Regions from separate parts of the Homo sapiens genome. Here regions 2, 3, 4 and 5 are each linked to region 1. The links are contacts of gene promoters, found by promoter capture Hi-C in blood cells and fetal thymus (Javierre and others, 2016). All regions are on one chromosome and are shown on one strand. Each heading gives the region's core, a stretch centred on a gene start or on the middle of the fragment in contact. The rest is flanking DNA. Distances are from core to core; before and after follow the strand shown. Region 1 holds the start of KLHL32 (kelch like family member 32). Region 2 overlaps UFL1-AS1 (UFL1 antisense RNA 1). Region 3 overlaps UFL1 (UFM1 specific ligase 1). Region 4 has its middle 4.8 kb from the start of FHL5. Region 5 overlaps FHL5 (four and a half LIM domains 5).

Region 1 (4,268 bases), core at 593-3,092:
ATCAATACTAAGGAGCCATTTAGGAAAATCTTGCCCTCTCTGAACTAGACATTTTACTAGGCATTTACCATTTAAACCTCAACGCCATGTGTCAATGAACAATATTTAGTGAGCCGATACTATGTGGCAGACATTGTGCTAGGGCCAGGAGATACCCTGAGACACTCAGCTTGGGCAGTAAGAGACTCTTCCATAGTCACACAGATGGTGAGTTGGTGGTGTAAATATTCTTTTCCTGTGTAAATGCAATTATAGTCTTTGCTCTATTTAATTATACTAAATAAATAGCTGCTATTTATTCTAAACAGATAATCCAATCAATATAGATGGGCTTAAAATTTTAAGTATTCTCACTTTAGTGACAAACACCTTGGGGATCTTAAAGGACTGTTTTATTTATTGATACCAGTCACTGTCAATATTTTTGGTTCAAAGACGCTTTCATATTCGATTTTCTGATAGAAGACAACGCAATGAAAACTATCAAGTTGCTTATGAAAAATTCTTAGGATGACACTGCACCTAATGTTTGTAGTCAGTTGTTTGTCATTCTTTCCCTTGTCCTATGCTGTGTCCAGGACTGCTAGATAAGTAGGTACCCAGCATCCTAGCGTCCAGATATCAAAACCATGAAAATGAAGCACTACAAGCCAGACAGATAACCTCCAGAGGGAGCAAACGAATAAACCCCCAAATCCTGTGGATCTAGAAGTAGAAAATAATCGCTGAACCACTGATTTGAGACCAATGAGAACATTAAGGACACCTCAAAATAGATCAGGGCACTGTTCCTAGCCCAACTCTGTGGCAGAACATAAACCTGCAAGAAATAGGATTAACATACTATCTTTGCAGTAAGTTAAATCCTGAACTTCTACAAAATACAGTTTACTCCAATTTAGTTACACTCTTCCTGCTTCTGGTGTCTTACCTCCACGTTGGACTAAGGTTTTCAATTCGGTGGTGGAATACTTACCTATTAAAATTACCCACTTTGCTTTAGTGTGAGTTTCTCAGCATGTTTTACACAGGAGTGACCTGAATGACTCGGAAGTGGCACTTGAGTGTGCCAGGCCCTGGAATTTAATGGTATGGTTCTGTGGTTGTTGTCTGTTTGCGGTTTTATTGCTGAATTAGTAGTAACCACAGTAATCACACCCTTTCTCATTTCTCAGGCTTGGGGATTTCGTCCACCTCTGGCGGGTTGGTTCCCCTGACGTTTCTTAAAGTTACTGTGAATTTGTTCTGGTCAGTACCATAGAGTGTATTATCCTAAGGAGGGCCACTGTAGGGCCGCTAGGACTAGAGGCAACTTGAACTTCACAAGTTAGCAGAGCAAGGACTCCCTGGAACACCGAGTTAGGGCCACGGGGTCTGTTTGCTCAGATTGCCCGCCAGCCCTGGGAAAGGAGTCTGGGGGCGAGCAGGCTGGGTTCCCGGGTCTCAGTCGCCGCAGTGGTGGCTACAGACTGCGCATGTGACCCAGGGGCCGGCGACGCAGGTGCCGGAGAGCGAGGAGGAGGGCGGCGTGGAGGAGGGTACTTCCGGGACCGGCGGGCGCGCGCTGGCAGCTCGCCGACGGCGGGGGCGGGGGCGGGGGGCGGCAGGGGAGCGAGCGCGCTGGCGGCGGGCGGTGGCGTTGCGCGCGGGGTGGCGAAAGGATGTGCGCGGGATCGCGGGGGAGGGGGAGGGAGCGCGCGGGCTAGCTGGAGGCGGGAGGGGGCGGAGCCCTGTGGCGTCTGAACCCGCCCCGGGGGTGCCAAGGTGCGTCTCCAGTCTGACGCGACCGCCTGGGGCGGAGTCAGCGGGACGTGCCACCTGCAGTGCTGGCTAGGGCTTTTTATTTACTAGGGAGCAGTTTCCCCGCGCGACAGTTCGGGAGCGCGCAGGCAGTCGCGCGCACACACGCACGCAGGCACACACACACACACACACACACACACACACACACTTTCGCACACACAAACACGCTAGGACGCTCGTCTTCGCTACTGCATCCCCGAACCAGCAGAGCGAAGCTACTGCGGGTTCTGTTAACCTCAGCATCGTGGGGCGAAGCAGAGCCATTGTGCATCAAGGAGAGGCCGGTGCCTGCGCTGCCGTCTCTGGCACCTAACCCAGCAGACCGCTCACCCCATCGGGTAAGCCAGTCTCTCTCCTTGTAACCTGTTCTGCAGACCTGAGGAAGAGGGTGGGAGGCTGCTGGTGCGCCAAGTGGGGGCAGACCCGGAGTTGACATTTCAGGGGCTTGCAGCCCATGCAGCCTCTGCCCGTGTCGTCTAACGGGAGCAGCCACTACTCAGGTTACTTATGCTGCCAGCCCTGGAGTCGCTCCCCCTTTCTTCCCTCCCCCTGAGCCCAATATGTACTGTGCTCCTTGGTTGCCAAGGAGACTTGCTTAAACATCAGCCGTGGGACATCTATTGAAAGAACTGGTTTCTTAAATGATGCCGTTATTTATTTTGATATTTAAAATAAAATATACACTGAGGACCTTTCGTAATTTGGCATTTGTTAATCTGTATTCAGGTGGCGGTTTCATTCAACTTCAAGAAAAGCCGTAATTGCACTATATGGTATGCTTTAAAAAGGATTCGTCAGATGAATTTTTCAACGGATTGTGTCTTGAATCATAATTTACTCCCATTTTGGTGATCTTATAAAGAAAGATGACTGCAGTTTAGATCCCTTCTTCCCCTCTATTTCCAGTTTTATTTTGCAGTTCACTTAGTCGTGATTATTTTAAATTAAAAGCAGATGATTTAATTGTGTTTCCCCACACAAGAATGAGCTTCTATTGTAAATTGACCAGAACAGGAATACGTTTGTGAATTCGTAACGTAAGAAGGTAGCATTCATGACATACATCTTTGCTAGCATTTTTATATCCCCTGCATCAGTATTGAAGCGCAGTTTTTTGCACCTCTGCTCATTTCTGAGAAGATTCTGTTTTTTAAAAAATCTCTTATTGATTATTTTTAGATCTATCTCTATACACAGATAGAGATAGATATAAAATGTGTGCCATGGCTTACTAGAGCTTATATGAAAGTGCAGTGGTTTTTGCTTTTTGTTTTTTTTCTGATGGGACTGGGTCCTCTACTGGAACACTGATAGGCCAATGGAACAGGTCAGCCTAATACCTGGGCTGTCAGTTTTGTTTTATTTTGAGGTCTCGGGTGTCTATTGGGTGAACTTGTAACACAGTACTTGAAGGCATCAGCAATCCAGTAATTACACTTTGCACGAATTTCATGCCTCCATCACAAACAAATGGCCCAGTAAAGATCCACTGGCATTCAAGAATTAATTTTGTTTTCCTTGGATATTTGTTCATCTTTTCTACTTCTTGTTAAATGACCCAAGGAAATAAGTCAAATTCTTCTAATTTAGATTTTAAACTCTGTCATAGAGAGTGTAATAAATAATGTGAGGAGCAAGTAAGCCAAATAATGACAGAGGTAGATAGAGGGGATTTATGCAATTCACAGAGCTTTGGGAGATGAATGATGACAAACATTTTACATTACAGTGTAGAAAGCACTTTTCATATACTTCTTTTTTAATCCTCACAACAACCCTTTGAGGCCAATAAATTACCTTCCATTTAAAGCTGAGGAACCCAAGACTCAAACCTTGCTGAAGGTCACAGCTAGTGAATGGGGAAGCCCTTTCTGGATCCAGTCTCCTTGCCTTTAAAAAAAAGTTGTGTGTGCGTTTCAGATGTGTGCAGGGATCTGACAAGTGAGATAAAGGAGTGGAGCAGGCCTAGACAAGACACGTGGGAGAGAGGGTAGGGAGTGGAGTGTGAACTGTGGCCTCTGGAACTTGCAAACCACTGTAAAGGAGGCAGCTCCCACTCCACTGTAGCCGATTGTTACTGTCCAGGCTCTAAAACATGACAGTTTTTTAAGGAAAACAGAAGCTTCTGGATTTTTTTTATGAGGTATCCTTAATTTTAAAAACTGTAAGGACCACATTAAAAATTGTATCTGGGTCATATCTAGCCTGTGGCCTGCTAGTTAGCAACCCATAATTACTGATGTCTCACTCAATTATAAGTTAGTATTCTCTAACAAAATACTGATGTGAAAAAATACATCCATCATTGTGAGTGATCAGTTTTTTATTTCAATATTAAAGTCTAATAAATGCTCTACCTTTGTTTTTCAATAAACAGGTTCAAAAATTTTTTGAGGTTTTCTAGATCTCTGTCTTATATCTCAGAAAATAAAAGACCATGAAGTGCTCTAAAATAGGAATTTTTG
Region 2 (4,268 bases), core at 573-3,072, 430 kb before region 1:
ATCTCTGTTCTGGATCTAGCAACCTAGCAAGTCTACCAGGCTCCAGGCTGGTACTGGGGGTTGTCTGCACAGAGTCCTGTGATGTGAACCATCTATGGGTCTCTCAGTCATGGAAACCAACACCTGTTCCAGAACTCCCAAGAGTATATGCCCTTTGTCTTCAGTTACCAGGATAAATAGCAACCTTATCTGGCAAACAAAGTTTGCAGACCTGCAGAAAGGCTTAGGAATTGGAGGGTCAAGTATCTCTGTTAGTGAAGGTATAAATGACGCTGTTCACAGGAAGACTGGATGAAAGTCTCTTATCCCCTTCCTCACTCATCACACACACAGATCCACTGTATACTGGTACAAGACAGACAGAACCAGGAGAATCCAAAGATCTGGCCCACAGAGGTTCGAGACTTACAGATAACATCACGGCTGAGGGCAAGAGTGAGATGCAATACTTGAAACAGGAGAATCAGCAAAGTCTACATTATGAATGGTGAAACCCCTGTCTCCTTCACTTTGGCTTAGAAAACTGACAATCCAGATCCTATCTACCACCCATACTTCAAAAGCAGGAAATTGGAGGATTCTTTTCTTGGCATAATCATCCCTGGATGAAAGACCTAACACATTCATTTTTGCTAGTGTTCCACAGTGGAAATGCCAGCTAGATTGCCCTGCAGAGAGGCCACAGTGTACAGTCCAATCAACACATGCAGACAGAGTTTCCAGTCAGTGTGCAGTTCCTCTGTCTGAAATGAGGGCAGTCGAGGACCACCAGACTCTTGAAAAAAAGGGTGCAGGAAGAAGGATAAAGAGCAGAGAAAAACACACACTGCACAAAAGGAATCTGCAGGAACAGAAAGTCTGGATTAAAACTTTATTTAAAAAATATCATTAATGTCTTTATAGAACCAGGCTATTGCTTCTATAAGAAAATAAGAAATTTTAACTGAGACACCAAGGTATGTGAACATCAGATATTAAAATGAATTAAGGGACAACATCCAGTAGTACTTACACATTTTCCAAGTGGTATTGTTGAGAACTAGTTAGACAACCCTAAAACCCACATGGCAAGTAATAAGGAGTAAACAATAAGACTGGAGAAAGGATTTGGAAGGAGGATTTATTTGGTGAGAGTTGCCAGGGTGCTGTGAGCCAAGGGAGAAAGAGGATCTGCACATGTAAGTGTCTGATCCATACCATGGAGTTAGGAGGACACAGGGAACCTTTCTCTGACTCTTGCCTGGGAACTTCGAGGGGCAAGTACAAGCTGGCAGGCTGCTTTGGTGGTGGCAAGAATGAGAGACGCTGTGGGATCCTGGGGGTAAGGAAGGTGTGACTGGTTGAACAGAGCACATTAATTTAAGCCAAGTAAGCTACACCAAGGGGTTTGGTATCCAAAGGACCCATTACTCTGCTCATGATGGGAAAGAAGTCAGCATTAAAGCCTTCCTAGGCCCACTGAAGTGAAATAACCTTGGAATAGCACTAGCAATAAAACGATTGCCTAATTGCACAGAGATACAGCCAAGGAATTGATGGAATTAATGTTATGACTGCATGCTGCTCTTCCTTTTCACATAACTTTCTCCAAAGAATGATTAAAGTTTTGTGTCACTTTATGAGAAACAATGAGTGACCAAACACTTATTTAGCACTTATATTCCAGGCACTTTTATTTTTATTTTTTTTTTTTTTTTGAGATGGAGTCTTGCTCTGTCGCCCAGGGTGGAGTGCAGTGGTGCAATCTCGGCTCACTGCAACCTCTGCCTCACGGATTCACACCATTCTCCTGCCTCAGCCTCCCAAGTAGCTGGACTACAGGCGCCTGCCACCATGCCCAGCTAATTTTTTGTATTTTTAGTAGAGACAGAGTTTCACTGTGTTAGCCAGGATGGTCTAGATCTCCTGACCTCGTGATCCATCTGCCTCGGCCTCCCAAAGTGCTGGGATTACAGGTGTGAGCCACCACACCCGGCCACTATTCCAGGCACTTTCTATGAACTTCATATTAACTCATTGAATCTTCACAACAAGCCTGTTAAATAGGTAATATTATTACCATCATTTCACAAATGAGAAATCCGAGGCCCAAAAAGATGAAGTATTACCAAGGTCATATAGCTGGTAAGTGACACAGCCAAGATTTAAGCACTTTAGTCTGCTTCAGAGTCTGTGCTTTTAACCAAAGGGTTTTACAGTTAGCACGCTCATTCTAGATGAATAAATTATTCCCTGGCATACTCTGTTCATAACACATGATAATAAGAATATTCTGACAGTTTTCACCTCATTTTAAACCACATTTTAATGAAGTAGAACTCTGATGTTTATATTCCTTTATATTCATTACCTTTATATTCATTACCTTTCTTCAAAAATAGAAGCAAAAGAATCTACACTACTCAAGGACTATTGCTATCATAGGATTAGCCTCCAGGGTTCAGAAACATCAGCTCCCCCATGTTGAATTAAGCCAGTAAGTGCACTGTTATTTTGATTAAAAATTTTTAGTTGAGACAATATTTAGGTTCAGATGCATCATAATTTAGAGTTAAGTTTGATGCAGACTATGTTTTAAACATGTGGGACACATTAAAAATAAGTTTGATTTAAGAAGTCAATAAAAGAACAGCAACTTTCTCTGAAAGGTCACTTTTTTGAAGATGGTTGAGTTTCGTTTGATCTAAATAGTTGCCAATATTCTGAGGTATAAATTTCATGGTTTAGGTCATTCAAGACAGAACTGGCAGACCTCGGAAAAAAATAAATATTTTTCCATTCCAACTATCTCTAAAAGGCAACACTGTTAGCATCACCACTTTGATTTTTTAGGCTTCAGAGGATATATCTCACATCTGTTTCATTAAGACAGGTCTAGATTCCCTGATTACTTCCAATTAATTATCATTCATTTCTTTGTTAAATTTTTCTTGTCCAGCTGCTATACAGCAGGAATGTGCTAAACACTGGAAATCCAAAATCAAATAAAATAAATCTGGTCTCTGCTCTCATGGAGTTTACAGTCTAGTGGTTTTCTCAGGATTACCTAGATATACACACTCCATATACCATCTGTAAGCTCAGAAAGTAAATAATTAAGCATGTAGGAATTTTATATAAAACACAGTGAGTAGGCTCTGAATCAGGACCTAAGCGTTTCCTATAAAATAAAACCCATGGGATTTATGATGCAAGTTTAAACACTGAGATGCTTATTTTGCATTCTTTTCAGAGTCATTGTTTTTATTTTATGTCACTATCATTTTGTAAGAAACAGTAACCTTTGCCGCATTCATAAATAAAAACCTTATTTCCTTTAACTATATTCTCAGAGAGTATGTTTGTTTGATTTTCAGTTTCTCTGCATTCGGTCCTGTCTTTTTCTAAGGCAGAAACCAAAGCAAGCGATAGATGAATGAATGCTGAAGCAGCATGCTATCAAGAGATTAGCATCTGGCAACTGGATGAGTTGAAACTAGTAGCTTTCTTGAGCTTCCTAGAATTGAGTTGCACTATGAGCCTAAGAGATTTTTGTTGAAAGAAATCTCACCAAATTTCCTGGCCCTGATAACATTTTAGTCAGGCCTAAAATATACTTCATTCTAACATTCAGTCTTTTGAAACAAACACCACAATAATAAAATAACAATAATAAACAATAATAAAAATAACAATAATAAAATAACAAAACGAAAGTATTGGCAACCTATGAACTCCTCAATACCAAAACTAAATGCAGCACTAAGCTAAACAAGCCTCTATGTTATCTAATGTTCTTTATAAACTCCCCGTGAGGGGTACACAGCAGGTGCTGTGGGGCAGCAGAGATTCTAGACAGAAACATGGTAGGGCTTTTGTTGCAGCTGCTATGCTAGTTACCAGAAGATCAATAAATGATTGGAGCACCTAACACAGTGAATGATTGCAGTGGCATTGAAATAATGATATAGGAAACTACTTAAAATGCATATATGCACTTGCTCTTTGGCTGTCAGGATCTCAAATTCAACATGCCTGGCACCTAAACAATTTCTGAATATTTTGCTTAAAAGAGTTACAAGGTTGATTGTTTTGGGTTTCTTACTTTGACATATAGATTTAGAGAAAAAGAAAAACAATTTAAATTTTTTGCCAATCAATTTAATCAGGTAATAAGTAAAAAATCCAGGAAGAGTTCATTTGCTCAGTGTTTATCCATTTAAATGAATTTTTTGACAGCTAATGTTTATTCTTTCTGGCATGAAAACTTTAAAAATTTTAATCATTTC
Region 3 (4,268 bases), core at 681-3,180, 380 kb before region 1:
GCATTTAATCACTGAAGAAGATCTGAAACAAATCTCCACTTTAGAAAGCGTTAGTACAAGTAAAAAGGATAAAAAAGATGAGCGAAGAAGGAAAGCAACAGGTAATAAATTGTTAACAAGGAATATTCAAAGTTTTGTATTTGTTGCAGTGAACTTTGCATTTATCACATTTATTATGCCCTTTGAAAGGCCCTTTGTTTTATTGATTTACCTTTAAACAGCTAATATCAACCAAATATTTTGCTAATGTGTTAAGTTTTATATAATAAAATGGAAATATTGGTGATTATGTTTTCTGTTTTCTTTTGTGAAAACTTTATTTTATCATCATGCTCATCTCTTGTTTTTCCCCATCCTCTGTCTATGTTCCAGCCCAGTAGCCCTTTTTTGTTTTGTTTTGTTTTGTTTTGATTCCTAAACTTGCCAGGGTCATATTCACCTCAAAGCTTTTACACCAACTGTTCCTTTTACCTGGAATGCCCTCTCCCAGACTGTAAGTAACTGGTGTATTCTTTTCATTCAGAGCTCGACTTTAAATGCCACTTCCTTAGAGAGGCCTCCTAACCCTTCGGAATAGTAGCCACAGTCACTCTCTGCCACCTCATTTTGTCAGTTTATTTGCATCACTTTATCACCATGATGTGTTTTATTGTTTGGGAACTGTGTTGATCTCATTTATTGTTGTACTCTTGCTACATACCCAAAGCACCACTTGATATATTTTAGGTGTCCTATAAACATACTAATTAAATGAAAAAATTTCTGAAGGACATATTTTTACATTTCTTTTTCTAATCTAAAGTCACTAGAAATTATTCTAGGTATCACTGATATGCTTGTAATTTGCAATGGAAAAGTAACATGTATTTCCATAGTTTTTATAGTAGGAACAGTGCTGTTAGTGCTTTATCGGAACTGAAGAAATTCAATATTCAACATTTTTCATTAATAAATACACTTCTAATTCTTTGAGATAGTTTATTTCCTCTTCCAGAATCTTTTTCTTAAAACTTTTCAATGGCATTATGAAATTTCTCTATTCTTCCAGGAAAATTAATAAATTACTTAAATCACAGTAATATTCATAGCTATGGATATTTTATCATATATTTGAAGATATAGTTATAAATTTGCCTTACTCAATTGATGACTTATGTCAGTATAACTAGTCTATTTAATATTTTATTTCTTATTAAAAGTTAAGGGTCATTTGGTGTTTTATTTTCAGTGATAATGCTATTGTATTATAATTGTTTAATTACAGTGTGTGGAATCATGTCAATCATGAATGTTCCCCCCCATAGGAAACTTATTGTCAAATATAAAAAGCATGTTCACTTTAGACTTATATTTTTGAAAATAGAATTTTTTTATTATAAAAGAAAGGGAAAAATAATAGAAGTTTAAATCTAGGATGTGATGAAATCTAAGGCAAATCTATTTAGAATTTAGAAAAAGATCTTTAGTAATCACTTTATTTTATTAAAAAGACTAATCTTTTACTTATTTTGAAGTAATATAATATAGTTGTAATATGTTCAATGGTTTAAACCCGTTATCAGTATTCCATTTTGTAGAGTAGATATTTTACATGTCAATATCAAAGAGCAGGGAAATGCTGAAGTAGTATTTTTTATTTTTATTTACAGTGTTTGCATTTGTTTCATAATTTGTTTTTTTAAGTCTATAGTCAATAGGTAATAATACTTTTATACTTAACCAATTAATATTCATGGTCAACATTTATGAAGCACGTGTTATGTTTCACGCATTTCTGTAAAGAATATATACATTAATGACACAATGATCCTTGCTCTTCAGAAGTTTATAATCTGTTTGAGTAGCAGATGAGTCAGGATATCTCCTCTAAAAACAGGTAATAATCTTTCAACAAAGAAGGCAAAATAAGAATAATTAAATTTGTGAAGTCTTATAATAGAAGGTTATTGATGAGGCTGTGGTAACACAGATGAGCAAAGGAGGACACATTTCTTTTGGGGAAGGTAGAAGAGGAGGTGAAGGAATGGATTTTTGTTAAGAAAATATTGAGAGTTACAGGAAAGAGGTGACGTTAGAGAAGGAGAAAGAGAATGCATTTAGAGCAGTCAGGCTATCTAAGGTAGATTGCTCAAAAGATTTCATATTTTATTATTAATTTTTTATGTATTGGATTTACTAAACTTTTAATAGGGAACTCCAAATTTAAAAAGAGTCTAAAAGTTTCTTTATTTTGCCTTTATTTTTTCTGCTGTAAAGTTAAATACAACAATATAGTGTCATTATTTTATAAAAATGATGATTTAGTTAGGTAATGCTAACTAATGTCATTTTCCCACCAGAGGGCAGTGGAAGCATGAGAGGAGGAGGTGGGGGCAATGCCAGAGAGTACAAAATTAAAAAAGTCAAGAAGAAAGGAAGAAAAGATGATGATAGTGATGATGAATCTCAATCATCCCACACTGGTAGGTAGCTTTTCTTTACTTTTCCTTGGTGTATGTGTGATATTTGTAACATATTTTCTTAAGATGTATATAATTAGGTATATATGCTAATACAGGAAGTCCTTATTTTGCAGTGTTTCAGTGACACAAATTTCAGTTACCACACTTTAGTTAAATGTTATCAGTCCAGTAACAACACTGTTTATCTTAAATATTAGATACAAAGATACTTCGGTATATTAACTGAGTATAGTATAAAGTAGCTCTTCAGTCCACAAATCAGTACATAAATAACAGATGCATATCATGATCTGTGACAATCACACCACTTATTGTATAGTTTGTCAATGATTGGTCACTGCACATTGGTTATTCCTTATGCACAAACAACAAAGCATGTAGCTGTATTGCCTAATTGTCTCCCAGTGATAAACGCTATGATATTTTACAGAAATGGATAATCAAAAAGAGAATTGGCCAACAAAGATAAAAGCGTAGCAAAGAAATGAAAAGTGATAACACTGAAAATAAAATTGGAATCAAGCATAAATGGAGTTATAGAGGGAATGGCTGACTGTGGGAATGTTGACACTGCCATTGCTCAAGAAAATGAGGAAAGTGGTTATGACAAAAAGGATGAAAACATCTTAGAGGATGTAAAGTGGGGAAAAACTTCACAATTCTTGGAGATATTCCAAGACATTGAAAAGGCAAGGGATAAAACATTGGAAGCTGATTCAGAGTTAGAAAGTGGTATGACAATTTATAAGGCATAGGAAAGGTACTTGGTCCATACTGCAAGTTAATTGATAATAAGAAGAAAGCAAGCACTGTTCAGACTATTCCTGATAAGTATTTTACACAGAAATAAAACACTTTCATTCTCCATGTTCTAATGTGTTAAAAATACAGCATATTAAATTATAAACATTAGTTTTATTTTTCATTTTCCTATACATTTATAACCAACAGTAAAAGCTTTTAATGTTTACCAAAAATTTTTAAAGGCCACAGAACAATTGTAATTTTTCCTATTGATTATTAAGAAAGCTTTGCATGGTTTCACCTTACCATGATCATTTTTATGGTCTTCCACTGCCATGCAAAACAAGTATTAGGATATTTTTGAAAAGTAGACTTGCAAATTTAAATAGGAAACATTAATTTTATGTACATTTTACTTTCATAGTAACACCTAACTGGTTGGTTGCTTATATCTAAGAGAGAGCATTAATTATATGCATCTTTCTTTTCCTAGACTTGCTAGTGCTTGGCCAAGAAAGTCTACAAGAGACATCTTTTGTTTTTCTAATTAAAATTATGATATTTTTAATTTTTCTGTTTAAAAAAGGTAAACTTAATGAAACCATGATACTGCCCTCTTCCTTATCCCCAGCAAAATGAAAATTAAAAAAAAAAACTTTAAATGATAATAGATTGAGATTTATATTTTTCCTCTTTCACAGAATTCATTACATACGGGCTATAGCTGGAAGATGTAGATATCAAGTGATGTGCCTGCAGCTATTAATGTTCTACTTGCTATTTGTAATAGCACAGTTGTTTAAGATTTGTCTTTAAAGTATTCTGAGATAGGTAGAAATAACTACTGTTCTTCATGTATGTAAAACAACGTTAATTAAAGGAAAAGTATCTTTATAGGAACTACTAGCTTTATCCTTATTTCAAATAGGATTAAGACTATCCATTGTGAATTTTAATTTTTCACTGGTAAATGGATTTTCCTGTTGCCCAGGTGTACTAGGCATGTGGGTGAAGAGGCATTACAAGAAAACACTTCTCTAATATCTGTAATCTTAAATAATG
Region 4 (4,268 bases), core at 1,138-3,637, 370 kb before region 1:
CCCCATAATTCAATCACCTCCCACCCTGTTCTTCCCATGACACGTAGGAATTGTGGGAGTCAGAATTCAAGATGAGATTTGAATGGGGACACAGCCAAAACATATCGTTCCATCCCTGGCCCCTCCCAAATCTCATGTCCTCACATTTCAAAACCAATCAATCATGCCTTCCCGACAGTCCCCAAAATCTTAATTCATTTTAGCATTAACTCAAAAGTCCACAGTCCAATGTCTCATCTGAGACAAGGTAAGTCCCTTCCTCCCATGAAGCTATAAAATCAAAAGCAAGTTAGTTACTTCCTAAATACAATGGGGATACAGGCATTGGGTAAATACAGCCATTCCAAATGGGAGAAATTGGCCAAAACAAAGGGGCTACAATCCCTATGTCAAAGTCCAGCAGGCAGTCAAATCTTAATGCTCCCTTTGACTCCATGTTTTGCATCTGAGTCACACTGATGCTAGAAGTGAGTTCCCATGGTCTTGGGCAGCTCCCCCTCTGTGGCGTTGCCGGGTACAGTCTCCTCCTGGCTGCCTTCATGGGCTGGCATTGAGTGTGGCATTTCCAGGCACATGGTGCAAGCTGTCAGTGGAGCTACCATTCTGGGGTCTGGAGGACAGAGGCCCTCTTCTCAGAGCTCCACTAGGCGGTGCCCTAGTAGGGACTCTGTGTGGGGGCTCCCACCCCACATTTCCCTTCTGCACTGCTCTAGCAGAGGTTCTCCATGAGGACCCCGCCCCTGCAGCAAACGTCTGCAGGGGCATCCAGACGTTTCCATACATCTTCTGAAATATAGGCGGAGGTTTCCAAACCTCAATTCTTGACTTCCGTGCACTCGCAGACTCAACATCACGTGGAAGCTGCCAAGGCTTGGGCTTGCACCCTCTGAAGCCATGATTAGAGTGGTTGGGATGCAGGGCACCAAGTCCCTAGGCTGCACACAGCACGTGGACCTGGCCCACGAAACCATTTTCTCCTAGGCCTCTGGGCCTGTGATGGGAGAGGCTGCCGTGAAGATCTCTGATACGCCATGGAGACATTTTCCCCCATTGTCTTGGTGATTTAACATTTGGTTCCCTGTTACTTATGCAAGTTTCTGCAGCTGGCTTGAATTTCTCCTCAGAAAATGGGTTTTTCTTTTCTATCACATTGTCAGGCTGCAAATTTTCCAAACCTTTATGCTCTGCTTCCCTTATAAAACTGAATGTCTTTAATAGCACCCAAGTCACCTTGAATGCTTTGCTGCTTAGAAATTTCTTCCACCAGATACCCTAAATCATCTCTCTCAAGTTCAAAGTTCCACAGATCTCTAGGGCAGGGGAGAGATGCCACCAGTTTCTTTGCTAAAACATAACGAGAGTCACCTTTGCTCCAGTTCCCAACAAGTTCCTCATCTCCATCTGAGATCACCTCAACCTGGACTTTATTGTCCATATTGCTCTCAGCATTTTGGGCAAAGCTATTCAAGTCTCTAGGAAGTTTCAAACTTGCCCACATTTTCCTGTCTTCTTCTGAGCCCTCCAAACTCTTCCAACCTCTGCCTGCTACCCAGTTCCAAAGTCACTTCCACATTTTCAGGTATCTTTTCAGCTGCACCCAACTCTACTGGTACTAATTTACCATTTTCATGCTGCTGATAAAGACATACTCAAGACTGGGCAATTTACAAAAGAAAGAGGTTTATTGGACTTACAGTTCCACATGGCTCGGGAGGCCTCACAATCATGGCAGAAGGTGAAAAGCGCATCTCACATGGCGGTGGACAAGAGAATTTGTGCAGGGAAACGCCCCTTTTTAAAACCATCAGATCTCCTGAGACTCATTCACTATCACAGGAACAGCACAGAAAAGACCTGCCCCCACATTTCAATCACCTCCCACCAGGTTCCTCCCATGACACATGGGAAATATGGGAGTTACAATTCAAGATGAGATTTGGGTGGAGGCACAGCCAAACCATTTCACAGAAACAAATGGGATTTTTTCTATCAAGAAGTAACTGATGTGAGTTGGGAGGGAGTAAGAGGATGGAAGATTTACTTTCTTTCACTAAGACCAATGAAGAATTTCCCCCAATACATGGGAGATGTAATAAATGCACACACAAAACTCCCCTGGGATGTACATTTTCCACACAAATCTGGGAGCACTGTTCAAGTGGCTATTTAAATGACCTGCAAATTCACACAAGTTGCTCTATCTTGAGGACCCTACTAAGCGTACAACAGAATAAATAGATCCAGGAGAGGCTTCTTTCAAACCTTCTAAGAATGAAACTGACTTTCAGGCTTTCAGAAAAACAATTTGTATTACACTTACATCATAAAAAAGAAGGAATAACCACTGTAAACATGTATTCAATGTTTATAAGTTCCCAGTGTTGTATTATTTGTTTTATCAAACTTGCCCCTAGTTGCATCTCTATTTCTCTGAAGTGATTAGTAGTAAGACAATCTGGGTGTTTGTTTTAAGGAGCAGGAAAGACAGGATTACATTGATGGTGAAATGGAGGAAAGGGAGAACATGGTGAATTTATGGACTTGGCCTAATTTACTCGATCGTGTATGACAGCTAAATACTAGGAAGGCACATATCAACTTTAAAGGTATGTTTTACTTTCAAAGAAATAACAAGTCAATAATTACAGTTAAATATAGTGTCTTGGTAAAAGTACACAGAGGGTGTTGTGACAAGAAATGAAATTTAGACTGTGTTGCACAATGGGGAGGCTGGAAATAACACCTGAACCAAGAGTCCAGAGAGAAAAAAAGAAGGATTAGCCTTGGTGAAAATGAGAGAAGGGAAGGAGAGCATATTAAGGCAGAGAAAAGGAGGTACAGAAGTACTATGACGCTAATTAGAATGAAATAATGAGATGTGGGGAGCCAAGAAGTCTGAGAAATATAATAACTGATCTGGGGAAGTAGTGTAAGATAAAGTAGAGAGAATAGGGGGGTTTTGAAATGCCTTAAACACTAAGCTACAAAGTTCAACCACTATCTCAAAAACATGGAAGCCTTTAAAAGATTCAACTAACCAGGGAAATTAAGTAATTACATTTGTCTTCTAAAAAAATTACATTCTGGAAAGCAATTTGGCAATTTACCAAAATTCTTTAAAATGTACATATTATTCGTGAAATTAATGTCTTCCTTTTCTGAGAATTAAAATGACTAAAAAATGTATACGAGTCTTTTTTCCCAGCCTCTAGTAGAGAGGAACATGGACACCTTCTCTTGCACAGAAACAGGCCAATCTTGGCTCTGAAATAGTCTATTCAGATACTAGTCTGCCAAAGAAAAACTGCGATCTGACTAGTCAACCTAAGACAAAAGTCTCAAAGGTTGTCTCATGTTTTGTGTTACTCAATGTAAAGAAGTAAAAGTGCTTTGTCAAACTGTTTTACTACTGAGCCTGTCTTTACTCATCTAAAATGCAGTCCTTAACCTAATTCTATCATACAGACTTCAGAGTTGGGTAAGAACTTGAAGACTTGACACATAGAACATATTGTTGTTTAAATACAACCTAATAAATGTAAATGTACTTAAAGTCAATGTTCTAGATTTTTCTCCTTTCCTCTTTTCAGTCTTAATCTCAGTCCTGTGATTTGTATGTTTTAAATGCTGAGTGTATCTTTTGGTGTTGAAAAAAGAGAGAAAAAAAAGGAGAGCTATTCCATTATGTATTTTATTACATAGCAACTATTTGTTATAGCCACTTTAAAAATATTTTATTGGCTTGTCCATCAGTGAATGACTGGATAAAGAAAATGTGGCACATCTACACCATGGAATACTATGCAGCCATAAAAAAGGATGAGTTTGTGTCCTTTGCAGGGACATGGATGAAGCTGGAAACCATCATTCTCAGCAAAGTAACACAAGAAGAGAAAACCAAACACCACATGTTCTTACTGATAAATGGGAGTTGAACAATGAGAACACATGGACACAGGGAGGGGAACACCACGCACCGGGGCCTGTTGTAGGGTGAGGGGCTGGGGGAGGGATAGTATTAGGAGAAATATCTAATGTAAATGATGAGTTGATGGGTGCAGCAAACCAACATGGCACATGTATACATATGTAACAAACCTGTATGTTGTGCACATGTACCCCAGAACTTAAAGTATAATAATAAAATAAAAAATATTTTATTGGCTTGGAAAATTACAGTATATTAAGTGAAAACAAGGATACAGATTTATAATGGGGTTCAGGATGCACTACGCTAAAATATGGCACCTTGGTGTTTGAGAAAACTC
Region 5 (4,268 bases), core at 623-3,122, 330 kb before region 1:
CTCAGCTTACGAGATGACAGGATTAAGAGATTAAAGTGAAAACAGGCATAGGAAATCACAGGGGTATTGACTGGGGAAGTGGTAAGTGTCCAAGAAATCTTCACAATTTATGTTTAGAGATTGCAGTAAAGACAGGCATAAGAAATTATAAAAGTATTAATTTGGGGATCTAATAAATGTCCATGAAATCTTCACAATTTATGTTCTTCCACCATGGCTTCAGCCAGTCCCTCCGTTCAGGGTCCCTGACTTCCCGCAACATTTTATAATCTACTTTTGATATGTTATTTGTCTTTCGTTTTTAGTAGTTGTACCCTGATGTGTCCAAGTGTGTTTTTCAGGTCAGTTGAGGTTCATGTTTTCTTGGTTTTTAAAATTTGGGGCATGTATTTTGTCAGTTTTGGAAGATGGGCCATTGTTTCTTCAAATACAACTTGTATATTTTTCTCTTTTCTCATTCTCATTCTATCATCTATGTTTCTTACTTTCTTAATTGTACTTTTTATACCTTTTATCATCATGCTTAATTTTATTTTCTATTTTATCATCTTTTTCATTTCATACAATCTTTTCTAAAATTTCCCATTATGTCCCTAATTTAAATCATTGTATATTTCTGTACTATAATTTACATTTCATTCTTTTTCATTGTTTTTAATTCTCTGCAAAATTTTTGCTCCTTATTTTATTTACCCCCTTGAACATATTAAGGATAGTTTTATGTTCTGTCTTATAACTCCAAAATCTATGGCTTCCTGCATGTATGTTTCTATTCTTTATATTCCCTTGTCTTCTTCTGAACATGGTCATTTTTGTTTAGTGCTAGACATTGGTGTAGAAGTAATTGAGGCCTAAGATGATGTTTTCTTCCTTCAGACAGGATGTGTATTTATTCTGGTGTTCACCTAGGGATACCAGAATTCCAAGGTTATCTTAATATAATTTTAGAAACTGAGGTAATTCAAAGCTGGGCTTCCATCTCTGAAATACTAGTTTACTTCTAATTTACGTTACTCCAAGGGCATAGCTCTTTGGAAATATCACCTACACAATGATAAGCTTACCAGGCCTGCTACATGGAAGGTCCATTGACCTCAATCTTTGTCCCCTTAGCCTTTCTAGGCTGTCAGAAGTGCCATACAGCTTCTCAGACTATTCATTTTATCTTTTTGGATGTACATATTCTTCTGTGGAAAGCAAATACCAAGCTCATCTACGCTTTTCTCCTTCCTTTGGACTTTGCCTATTCTTCACTGTAATATTAATTCTCTGATGCCTCCAAGCTACACTTTTTAAGTACACTTTTTAAGTACTAGCTTCTCTAGTGGTTCACAGCAGCCTCATGGTTTGAATTATACAGAGTACCATTATTGGACTGGAAGTCTTTCAACAATTTTATTTTGGGGAAAAATTATTTCTATTATCTTCATTTAGTGAATTTTCTCTTTATGCATTAGTTTGTTTCATTTCAAGGTTGCTGATTTTTACTTTTGCTTTTTTCAGTCTGCTGATAATCTTATCCATTGAATTCTCTATTACAAATATTTTTAAACATAAGCCCCCACAGGGACTTTATTATACTTATGTTAAATATTTGGAAGGAAATGAACAGAATGAGTGAATGTATAAATGATTTCAGCAGAAAAATGAAAGAACTGGAAAAGGATCCAATAAATATTAGAATTTATATATATATATATATATATATATATATATATATATATATATATATGTATGTATGTATTTACTTCTTGAGGTGTCTTATAATTTTTTGCCTGCCAAACATTGGAACAAAATACACATGTACAATTTTTGTTTCATTTTGTTTTACCCCCAGAGGATGCACTCCTTTCTTGTCACATGGCTAGGTCAAGGGGCAGAACTTTTAGTTTCTGTCAAGTGTTGTGCTGAGTTACAGTTAACAAAAATATTAAATTAGGCCGACCTCTGGGTTCAAATAGTATTAAAGAAAACTATATTTCCCTTTCATCTAATCTTTGGTTGAAGCTGACAAGAATTTGTTGGGATTTGAACTCAGATTGGTTGCAGATGTTGACAGTTACTTTTGGATCATCTTTGGAATATTTTGGTTTTCAACCAAGAAAGTTTAACCACTCATTTGGTTTGATTTGGGTTTAAAATGTATCATATATCTTCTTCTTTTGTGATGTCTCAGTTTTCTAGTTTTCTTTTTCCTACGTACTTTCTATGAAATAATTTTGTTTTACTTATTTCTATTTCTATGTTTAGAGTTTTCCATTAAAATTTAACAAATCTAATGACTTATTATTAAAATTTTAACATGAGAATGCTTAATCTTAATGTAATTCAGTTAATGTATTCTTTTCCAGCAATACAAGGATTAACAATCAACTCTTTCCTCACTTAAATGCTATTTTCCCCAGTACATTAGTATTATTATGTGTTTTTGAACCCCACAAATTATTATTGTTTTTTCATACAGTCAATGTTTATTTTTGTGTAACTGCATGTTAGTCGAGGTCTTTGCTCCTTATTCTTTCTTTTTGTCTTCAGTTTTCCTAAACCTTCCGTTAGAGAGTTTCCTTTTTTTCTTTCTTTTTTTTCAAACCACATTCTTTAGAATTCCCTTCAGTGAAGGTTTTTTGGTAGTAAACATAGCTTTTGTCAACTTAAATATGTTTTTATGTCATCCTATTCTTTAAATTAAGCTTCACTGAGTATACAGGTCTAGAGTTTACTTATTTTCTCTTAGCATTATTTCAGTTTCTTCTGGTTTCTATTGTTGCTGTTTAGAAGTTATCTGCATATCTAATTGTTGGTGTTTTAGACATTTTTTTTTCTCTTTGAATGTCTTTAAGATCATCTTTGTCTCTGGAATATGACATCTTTACTATGATGTGTTTGTTTTTATGATGCCTGAAATTTGTTTTACTTTCTGCATCTGTATATTAATGTCATTAATTCTTGGAAATTCAATTCTATCTCCAACCTTTGCATATTTCTCATTTTCTCTATTATCTTCTTTTGAAATTCTGTAAAGACTTAGGTCAAATTCTTTTACTCTATCTTCTACTTTCTTTTTAACTGATATATTTTCTATCTCTTTTTCTTTCTTCATTGTATTTTATAGTATATCTTTAGTTCTATTTCCAAGTTTATTAATTTTCCCTTCAACTGATTCTAATCTGCATTTTAATCTGTTTTAATTTTAATGATAAGTTTTTATCTCTTTTATTTCTATCAGTTCTGTTGCAAATCTGCCTAGTCATTTTTATTCTCCTGAATTTTTCTATATAATGCTCTCTGTTATGTCTTTAAATATGTTAAACATTATTTTCCATTTTGTATCTGTTATTTCTCATGTGAAATTGTTTTGTTGGTGATCCAAGTATTTTCTTTGCTGGATTTTTACTTATACTGCTTGTTTTCATTGCTTATTCTTATTTTAAATATTTTAATTGTGAATTCATGCTCAATGAAAATTTATATGTATGATTTTTTTTAGGCCTAGGATGATGGGACATTCTTTCATAGAGGATTTTCTTGTGTTTCATTTTAAACTAAGCCTTTTAAACTAAAACCTAAGAGTTTTAGACCTTACAGTTAGTATAAGTTCAGGCTGTAAATACTTGGATAACAAGGTCATCATGGCTCAGAAGACATCCTCAGGACAAATGGCTCCTTTAGAGAGTGTTAACCTTTCTAGTTTCCTGCTTTCTTTTTAGTTTTAGCCTCTGAGATTTTCCCTTACTTTCTTGCCAGTTCGGCAACACATTTTATTTTGTTCGTTTTTTATTCCTTAGGCGTGTGTTTTTGAACATGCAATTTTCTAAGCTGTCAGCAATGAGCATCTTGTCACTCACATTTTAACTCTGAAATCTGACATCAGACAATTTAGTGTCTCCAAACTATTCTTTTGAAGACATCATTTACCTTCTTGTTGACACTTTCCTTAATTGTTATTAATATATATTCTCTTCTTGTAGTTCTCATTTCTTTTGTCTTTGAAAACACTGTGACCTTCACGATATCTGCTTCATCTCTTTCCCATCACATAACATGCATTTATCCGTGAGTTTGTATTTTATCTTTTTTTTTCACTTTTCTACACTAGGGTTTCTTTGATGGTCTCATTCAGTCTCATAACTTCAGTTACCATTGTAGCTCCTCAACTACCAATTAGCTCATCCAGGAAAATAGTCTAAACTTCTTAATCTAACATGACATTTTGATGCCTAGTATTTTGAACATACAGCTTGATGGCTATCTAGTTTAGTTCCTCAAAT

The links. Contacts are between HindIII fragments. The CHiCAGO score rates a contact against its expected background, and 5 or more counts as called.
Region 2: a fragment that was not itself captured here is called in contact with the fragment with the promoter of KLHL32 in region 1 in 2 of 17 cell types (naive CD8 T cells and total CD4 T cells); the score reaches 5.6 in naive CD8 T cells.
Region 3: a fragment that was not itself captured here is called in contact with the fragment with the promoter of KLHL32 in region 1 in 9 of 17 cell types (non-activated CD4 T cells, total CD4 T cells, total B cells and 6 more); the score reaches 10.6 in non-activated CD4 T cells.
Region 4: a contact is called between a fragment that was not itself captured here and the fragment with the promoter of KLHL32 in region 1, in 9 of 17 cell types (naive CD4 T cells, fetal thymus, total CD4 T cells and 6 more). The highest score is 10.0, in naive CD4 T cells.
Region 5: a contact is called between a fragment that was not itself captured here and the fragment with the promoter of KLHL32 in region 1, in 1 of 17 cell types (total B cells). The highest score is 7.4, in total B cells.

Annotation. Positions count from the first base shown.
Region 1 is chr6:96,922,886-96,927,153 of GRCh38, forward strand. KLHL32 (kelch like family member 32) reads left to right here and starts at 1,843. Exons shown (of 11, transcript NM_052904.4): 1 at 1,843-2,141. RefSeq lists a silencer at 1,570-1,879. The HindIII fragment of the contact is 7,655 bases long and covers 1-3,923 here.
Region 2 is chr6:96,489,012-96,493,279 of GRCh38, forward strand. The region is part of intron 1 of UFL1-AS1 (UFL1 antisense RNA 1); the gene reads right to left. Among named protein-coding and RNA genes, the nearest start is that of UFL1-AS1, 31 kb to the right of the region's middle. The HindIII fragment of the contact is 5,668 bases long and covers 1-4,268 here.
Region 3 is chr6:96,540,555-96,544,822 of GRCh38, forward strand. It overlaps UFL1 (UFM1 specific ligase 1), which reads left to right. Exons shown (of 19, transcript NM_015323.5): 11 at 1-101; 12 at 2,340-2,462. Among named protein-coding and RNA genes, the nearest start is that of FHL5, 20 kb to the right of the region's middle. The HindIII fragment of the contact is 2,973 bases long and covers 445-3,417 here.
Region 4 is chr6:96,556,149-96,560,416 of GRCh38, forward strand. No RefSeq gene overlaps it. Among named protein-coding and RNA genes, the nearest start is that of FHL5, 4.8 kb to the right of the region's middle. The HindIII fragment of the contact is 6,486 bases long and covers 1-4,268 here.
Region 5 is chr6:96,592,543-96,596,810 of GRCh38, forward strand. The region is part of intron 1 of FHL5 (four and a half LIM domains 5); the gene reads left to right. Among named protein-coding and RNA genes, the nearest start is that of FHL5, 32 kb to the left of the region's middle. The HindIII fragment of the contact is 1,631 bases long and covers 1,058-2,688 here.